2 separate regions of the Homo sapiens genome follow, and region 1 is linked to region 2. The links are contacts of gene promoters, found by promoter capture Hi-C in human tissues and cell types (Jung and others, 2019). All regions are on one chromosome and are shown on one strand. The core of a region is centred on a gene start or on the middle of the fragment in contact, and the rest is flanking DNA. Distances in the headings are between cores, read along the strand shown. Region 1 has its middle 6.9 kb from the start of ZNF441. Region 2 holds the start of ZNF625-ZNF20 (ZNF625-ZNF20 readthrough (NMD candidate)).

Evidence for each region. Contacts are between HindIII fragments. The study calls those that stand out against the background at their distance.
Region 1: a fragment that was not itself captured here is called in contact with the fragment with the promoter of ZNF625-ZNF20 in region 2 in 2 of the 25 tissues and cell types used here (IMR-90 fibroblasts and aorta).

Annotation. Positions count from the first base shown.
Region 1 is chr19:11,758,150-11,761,988 of GRCh38, forward strand. No RefSeq gene overlaps it. Among named protein-coding and RNA genes, the nearest start is that of ZNF441, 6.9 kb to the right of the region's middle. The HindIII fragment of the contact is 5,499 bases long and covers 1-3,839 here.
Region 2 is chr19:12,154,489-12,158,290 of GRCh38, forward strand. It overlaps ZNF625-ZNF20 (ZNF625-ZNF20 readthrough (NMD candidate)), which reads right to left and starts at 2,243. Exons shown (of 8, transcript NR_037802.1): 1 at 2,068-2,243. ZNF625 (zinc finger protein 625) reads right to left here and starts at 2,246. Exons shown (of 4, transcript NM_145233.4): 1 at 2,068-2,246. The coding sequence starts at 2,070. RefSeq lists a silencer at 1,763-1,932 and enhancers at 1,909-2,600, 2,163-2,272. The HindIII fragment of the contact is 11,402 bases long and covers 1-3,802 here.

The sequences.
Region 1 (3,839 bases), core at 392-2,891, 400 kb before region 2:
ACATTGTTGACATTATCATGCAAAGCTTAGGTGTCATGCCCTGTTTGAACATGAACGGACTGAATGCTGTGCAAGATAACTCAACTGTGGCTATCATCGGAACAGTAATATTCACGTGGGAATTCTTAGTACTGTTTTCCAAGGAAATTATTTTGCAGACACACTTAACAGCTATGTCCCATTTAAGTATGTTTTTGAAGAAAATTTTCTAAGAGTGAATAAATTTAAGCCAGGATTATTCTTTTTTATTTATTTATTTATTTATTTATTTTGCTTGTTTTAAAATTTTCCTGTCTTTTTTTTTAGACGGAGTCTTGCACTTTCGCCTGAGCTGGAGTGCAATGGCATGATCTCGACTGACTGCAACGTCCTCCTCCCGGGTACATGCGATTCTCCTGCCTCAGCCTCCTAAGTAGCTGGGACTACAGGTTCACACCACCACGCCTGGCTAATTTTTTGTATCTTTAGTAGAGACAGGGTTTCACTATGTTGGCCAGACTGGTCTCGAATTCCCGACCTCCTGAACTGCGCCCCACCCCCCCACCCTTTCAAAGTGCTGGAATTATAGGTGTGAAAAATTTCCTGTCACTTTAAGAATTATTCCAAAGACATATCTTTCTCTTCCTAGGGCAAATTACCTTAGATTTCTTCTGGGAATTTTGTACTAATCTTTAATGTTTTGGTCTTCCCATTTCATTCCTAAAATGTAGACCCAGAAGAATCACTATATATTATTATAAAATTACATTGAGGCCGGGGGCGGTGGTTCACGCATGTAATCCTAGCACTTTGGGAGGCCGAGGTGGGTGGATCGTCTGAGCTCAGGAGTTCGAGACAAGCTTGGGCAACACAGTGAAACCCCGTCTCTACTAAAAAATACAAAAAAATATTAGCCGGGCATGGCGGCGTGCGCCTGTAGTCCCAGCTACTCGGGAGGCTGAGGCAGGAGAATCAGTTGAACCCAGGAGGCAGAAGCTGCAGTGAGCCAAGATCGTGCCACTACACTCCAGCCTGGGTGACAGAGCAAGACTCCATCTCAAAAAAAAAATAATAATAAATAAAAATAAAATTATATTAAAAATGTAAGATTTTATGTAGACTGCAGTTATGGATGATTTATTCACCAAACCACAGTTGACTCTTCAACAACACAGGTTTGAACTGCATAGATCTCCTTACATACAAATTTTCTTCAGTTTCTGCTACTACTGAGACAGCAAGACCAACCCCTCCTCTTATTCAGCCTACTCAATGTGAAGACAATAAGGATGATAACATTTATGATGCTCCACTTCTACTTAATGAAATAGTAAATATAGTTTTTTCTCCTTGTGATTTTCTGATTAACATTTTTCTCTGCCTTAGTTTATTGTGAGAAAACAATATGTAATGCATATGACATATAAAATATGTGTTAATTGAATGTATATCTTACCAGTAAGGTTTCTGGTCAACAGTAGGCTATTAGTAGTCAAGTTGCGGGGGAGAAAAAAGTTATTTGAAGATTTGTGACTGCATTGAGGGCTGGTGCCCCTAATCCCTGCATTGTTCAAGGGTCAAACGTATTTCTTTTATATTCTAAATCTTTGAACAGCATTGGTGACGAAGAAACAAATATTCGTAATTGACTAAGTAAAGACATGATGTCCCCCTTACCTATACAGTCTAGGTTCCTGATGGTTTCCCGTAGCACATCTCTGTAGAGACTCTTCTATGATGGACCCAGCAAAGCCCACTCCTCCCAGGCAAAAGATCAAAGCCACATCCTCAAAGGCCACTGAGTCCTGAAACACCCGACACGTGCAGAGGAGGAAAGCTGAAACTGACAGCACTGGGAATCTGTACTCACTACATAAATGTCACATGATGCTGTGGTGTCCAAACATTTATGCAACGACACGGTAATCCAACTCTTACCCTCTTTCTAAACTCATTTTCTCCCAGAATGCAATTCTAATGCTAGAATTAAACGTGTTTGGTAAAATAACAGTCGAATTATAAAATGCCACTCCTTGGTGAGTTAAAGGAGTGACATTTATTGCCTAGATCACCCCTAATATCTATGTGTACAGGATGTTTGTAATTCCTGATGTGACAAAGTCCTCCTACCTAATGGGCAGAAGAGTTAACATCAGCTGTCCTGAGACCGCATATTGTTACAAATGCTTGCTCACAAAGTTGAACCTTTCACTATATCTAGGAACTAAATTTAGTTAGGGGGCTTCACCAACATAAGCGATAATGGAGGATGAGTGTCCCTAAACTATGTAAAAAATATGGTATCTGCTGAACTCCTATGTTCCCTCTGAGAGTTCAAACTTTTGTGATATGCTTGGCAGAGGGAGCATACCTGATCATTCACTACTAGGTTTTTTGCTTGTTTTTGTTTTTGTTTTTGTTTTTTTTGAGACAGAGTCTTGCTCTGTCTCCAGGCTGGAGTGCAGTGGCGCAATCTCGGCTCACTGCAACCTCCGCCTCCTGGGTTCAAGCGATTCTCCTGCCTCAGCCTCCCGAGTGGCTGGGATTACAGGCGCACACCACCATGCCCAGCTAATTTTTGTATTTTTAGTAGAGACAGGGTTTCACCATGTTGGCTAGGATGGTCTCGATCTCTTGACCTCGTGATCCACCCACCTCAGCCTCCCAAAGTGCTGGGATTACAGGAGTGAGCCACCGCGCCCGGCCATTCACTGCTAGGTTTGAATGTTTGTCCCCTCCAAAATGCTTGTTGAAACATAATCGCCAATGTGGCACTAATGAAAGGTGAGGCCTTTAAGAGGTGAGTAGATCTTAAGGGTTCAGACCTCATAAATAAATTAATCCATTCATGAATTCATGGCTTACTGAATTAATGAGTTATCTCAGGAGTGGGACTGATGGCCATATTAAAAAAGAAGGGAACCTGAGCTACCACATTCAGCCCATTCTCCATGTGATACCTTCAACCACCTAGAAACTCTGCACAGCCCCCATGACCAAGAAGGCTTTCACCACATGAAGCCCTCTTACTTGCTAGGTTCCAGAACTATAATAAATAATTTTTTTTGTTGTTTTTTGGCTTTTCTTTTTAGATGGACTCTTGCTTTGTTGCCCAGATGGGAGTGCAGTGGCACGATCTCGGCTCACTGCAACCTCTGCCTCCTCCTGGGTTCAAGCAATTCTCCTGTCTCAGCTTCCTTAGTAACTGGGACTACAGGTACATGCTACCACACTTGGATAATTTTTGTATTTTTAATAGAGACAGGGTTTCACTATGTTGGCCAGGCTGGAAGAAATATTGTTTTTTAAATAAATTACTCAGCTTCTACTATTCTGTTATAAGCAACAGAAAACATACTAGGATAAGCATGAAAAAACCACTCACCACTGGGTCTCTTATGAGCTTTTTTTGGTAGATAACATTTCCCACATTTTGTCACAACTTGTTACTTAAAGGATAAAGCCCATCCAATCTGAACACATTATAGGAGACTATTTGGAAGGTGGCATCTGCTTTCCTCTAGACCAAATTCAGTTAAGTATGACAAAAGACTAATGAAAGATGTCTCACTATCCCAATGGGAAACTTACGCTTTTTATTGGGTAATAACAAAGGATAATAAAGAAGGAAAAAGATTGCACATGTTCACTCCTGTAATCCCAACACTTTGGGAGGCTGAGGCGAGTGAATCACCTGAGGTTGGGAGTTCAAGACCAGCCTGAACAACATGGAGAAACCCCATATCTACTAAAAATACAAAAAATTAGCCGGGCATGGTGGTGCATGCCTGTAATCCCAGTTACTCGGGAGGCTGAGATAGGAGATTCGCTTGAAGAACCTGGGAGGCGGAGGTTGCGGT
Region 2 (3,802 bases), core at 993-3,492:
GCACTAGGTCAAGAGTTTAACTTTTAGCTCCGGAGTTCTAAGCCCATTTCCCTAGAGTCTGTATTTTCTTGAATGGCAATTCTCAGATTTTCACTTAAATAATCTCCTTATAATAGGAATCTGATCATTTCAATCATTTAAGGTAGAAAAATCCAAACAAGGCGACTACATCACTGTAACCAATAAAGTATTTTTTGATTTTTATTCTAATGCACCATATAAAAGCCTATCCTTCAACCTGTAAACTAAAAATAAAAACCTAAGCTCCCCATCCCACCCCAATCAAGTCAACTGAGTGGCTCTTTACCAAGGGGAGGCCCCCCAAAAACCTGAAAGTTCCCAGTTACATTAGTAAGGGAGATCAGACACTCCATACTCCCTTCTGGAGTTTAGACACAGCAACTGACCCACATTCATATTAAAATAGACATAAGACCTGCAAAGAGGCCGGGCACAGTGGCTCAGTCCTGTAATCCTAGCACTTTGGGAGGCGGAGGGAGGCGGAGGCAGGCGGATTATTTGAGGTCAGGAGTTTGAGACCAGCTTGGCCAACATGGTGAAACCCCATCTCTACTAAAAATACAGAAATTAGCCGGGTATGGTGGCGTGCACCTGTAATTCCAGCTACTTGGGAGGCTGAGGCAGGAGAATTGCTTGAACCTAGGAGGCGGAGGTTGCCGTAAGCCGAGATTGCGCCACTGCACTCCAGCCTGGGCGAGAGTGAGGCTCCATCTCAAAAAAAAAAAAAAACCTGCAAAGAAACCCTTTGTACCAATAAATACTAAATTGCAAACAAGACCTAAGGCCATGCAAGGCAAGGGTAAAGTCACGCCTTAGAATTCATAAAATCTAGTGAAACATATCTGTTTTTTGGTGGGGATGGAATCACGTGGCAGGTAACAGACTCCCTTCACTTAAACATTCCTTCCTACCCCTTTCAAATTTTAGACACAACTTCACACTCTCAGCCAACTGCCAACTACAGAATCCCTCAACCACCTGTGCCTTCTAAGCCCCGCTTCTACGTGTCCTGCCCTGTCAGCCTTCCATGCCTTGATTGATCTTTTCCCTGCAATTCCTGTCTCGCTGAAATGAATAAAACCAAACTGCCATCGAACCTCCTGGGGACCACTTACTCGAGGCTACATGCGGTTGTTTCCCTTGGTCACGTTCTCTCATATTCGGCGTAGAACATAGTTCAAGTTATTTTGCAGAGTTTTGCTCTTTCCGTTATCAAACTGCAAGCCATGACTGGGTGTTTCTCATTCAGGAAACATTTCTCATTCATTTTTTTCAAACTCCTATTCTGAGAAGCAAAACTCTTTAATTTTTAAGAGGACTCAGTTTAGTTTGTTGCTGTTGTTTTTGTTTTGTTTTGTTTGAGACAGGGTCTCGCTCAGTCGCCCAGGCTGGAGTGCAGTGGCGCGATCTCGGCTCACTGCAGTCCCAATCTCCTCCCTCAAGCGATCCTCCCACCTCAGCCCCCCAGTAGCTGGGATTACAGGTGGGCGGCACCACGCCCGGCTCATTTTTTAAAAATTTATTTTTAATAGAAACTAGGGTCTCGGTATGTTGCCTAGGCTGGTCTCGAATTTCTGGGCTGAAGCAATCCCCCCGCCTCAACCTGCCAGGCGTGACCCACTGCGCCTGGCCTTCAATTTAGTTTTTCAGGAAAAAAGGGGGGACTGGGGACCCCGCAGCCCACCGCTCCTCCCACACGAACCACACACCCGAGGCAGGATTGCCTCCATGACCCTCCCGTGGTCTCCGCACAATCTGGGGAGACGCGGGACTACGGGCGCGGAGCTCCCCAGAGAGGGCTCCGGGGCCGGGGCCAGGGCCGGGGTCGCAGTCGCAGCGCAGAGACGGGACAGGACGCCTGGGGTCCCGGCTGCCGGCCCAACCCCACCCTGCGGCCGAAGGGACCGAGGGCCGAGCTACGCCAGGGGGACTCCGCTCTGCAGACCCGAAGTCGCTGCAGGAAGGCCTGGGTCCTGCTAGAGCCGGTTCGAGCCGGTTCCTCCCGGCCCCTCCCCCGTCTCGGGACCCCCGGCCCCGCACACTCACCATTTCCCGGCTTCCAGGTGTCCTGGCCTCCTCTCCACGGATCCCTCTAACAGTCCAGTCACAGTGCGGGCGATGGAGCGACAGAAGCTATGGCGGAGGCACCTGGTCCCTCTCGGGGCCGGAAAACCGAGATCCCGACCTCCCTTTGGTGCAAGACGCCTGGGAGTCAGGAAAGCGGGAATGCGGCCTCCCCTTCCCCGGATGGACAGTTGGCAGGACCCCGCCCCAGCGCCCCTGATTGGATGAGGCTCCAGTCCCCGTCCCATCGGTCCTGAGTGACAGCGGAAGCCCTGGGTAACAAGGCCCGGCAGAACCGAAATGACCTGTTCCAACCACAGATTATCTAAGCGAGCTCCCTCCCTGCGTCTTGCTCTTTGGGTATTTGCATTTCAGCCAAATTTGCTCCGAATTGCTAGAGGGGGTACCGTTGTCTTCCTCACTCAATGGGCTGTCCCTGCTCCTTTGTCTTGCACAGGAAATTCCAGACTCAGAGTCCAGTGGAGGTGAAGGAAATTAAAATATTTTACGCCAAAATATATTTATTTGACAGATTTTGAAATGGCTGTGGCTCGGCCGCAAAAAAAAGTGGACTGGCAAAGCTGTCTTTGGAGGGGGGGAATTTGCATCTGCAGAGAATCTCCATTGATGAAACCATGCCCTCTCCCCCTTTATTTCTTTCCCTTTATCCAAGCTAGAAGAGATTGTGACCTGAACACAGGCAGGGTGCGGTGGTTCACGCCTGTAATCCTAGCACTTTGGGAGGCCAAGACTGGAGGATCCCTTAAAGTAAAGAGTTAAAGACCAACTTGGTCAACACAAGAATACCCCTGTTTTGTTGTTTTTTTTTTTTAATTTTTATTTATTAAACTTTAAGTTCTAGGGTACATGCGCACAATGTGCAGGTTTGTTACATATGTATACATGCGCCATGTTGGTGTGCTGTACCCATTAACTCGTCATTTACATTAGGTATATCTCCTAATGTTATCCCTCCCACATCCCCCCACCCTAGACCCCTGTTTTTATTATTTAAAAATCTTTACGGCCGGGAGCGGTGGCTCACGCCTATAATCCCAGCACTTTGGGAGGCCGACGCGGGCGGATCACGAGGTCAGGAAATCAAGACCATCCTGGCTAACACGGAGAAGCCCCGTCTCTACTAAAAATACAAAAAATTAGTCGGGTGCGGTGGCGGGCGCCTATAGTCCCAGCTACTCGGGAGGCTGAGGCAGGAGAATGGCGTGAACCCGGGAGGCGGAGCTTGCAGTGAGCCGAGATTGCGCCACTGCACTCCAGCCTGGGCGACAGGGCTAGACTGTCTCAAAAAAAAAAAAGAAAGAAAAAGAAAAAGAAAATCTGTGAAGGTCAGAATTAGAGCAAGACCCATTTGGGATGCCTCCTGGAGAAAGGGTTTATGAATTTTTATTTATTATTTTATTTTATTGTATTTATTATCATTTTTTTTGAGACGGAGTCTCGCTCTGTCGTCCGGGCTGGAGTGCAGTGGCGCAATCTCGGCTCACTGCAAGCTCCGCCTCCCGCCCGGGTTCATGCCATTCTCCTGCCTCAACCTCCCAAGTAGCTGGGACTACAGGCGCCTGCCACCACGCCCGGCTAATTTTTTGTATTTTTAGTAGAGACGGGGTTTCACCGTGTTAGCCAGGATTGTCTCGATCTCCTGACCTCGTGATCCGTCCGCCTCGGCTTCCCAAAGTGCTGGGATTACAGGCGTGAG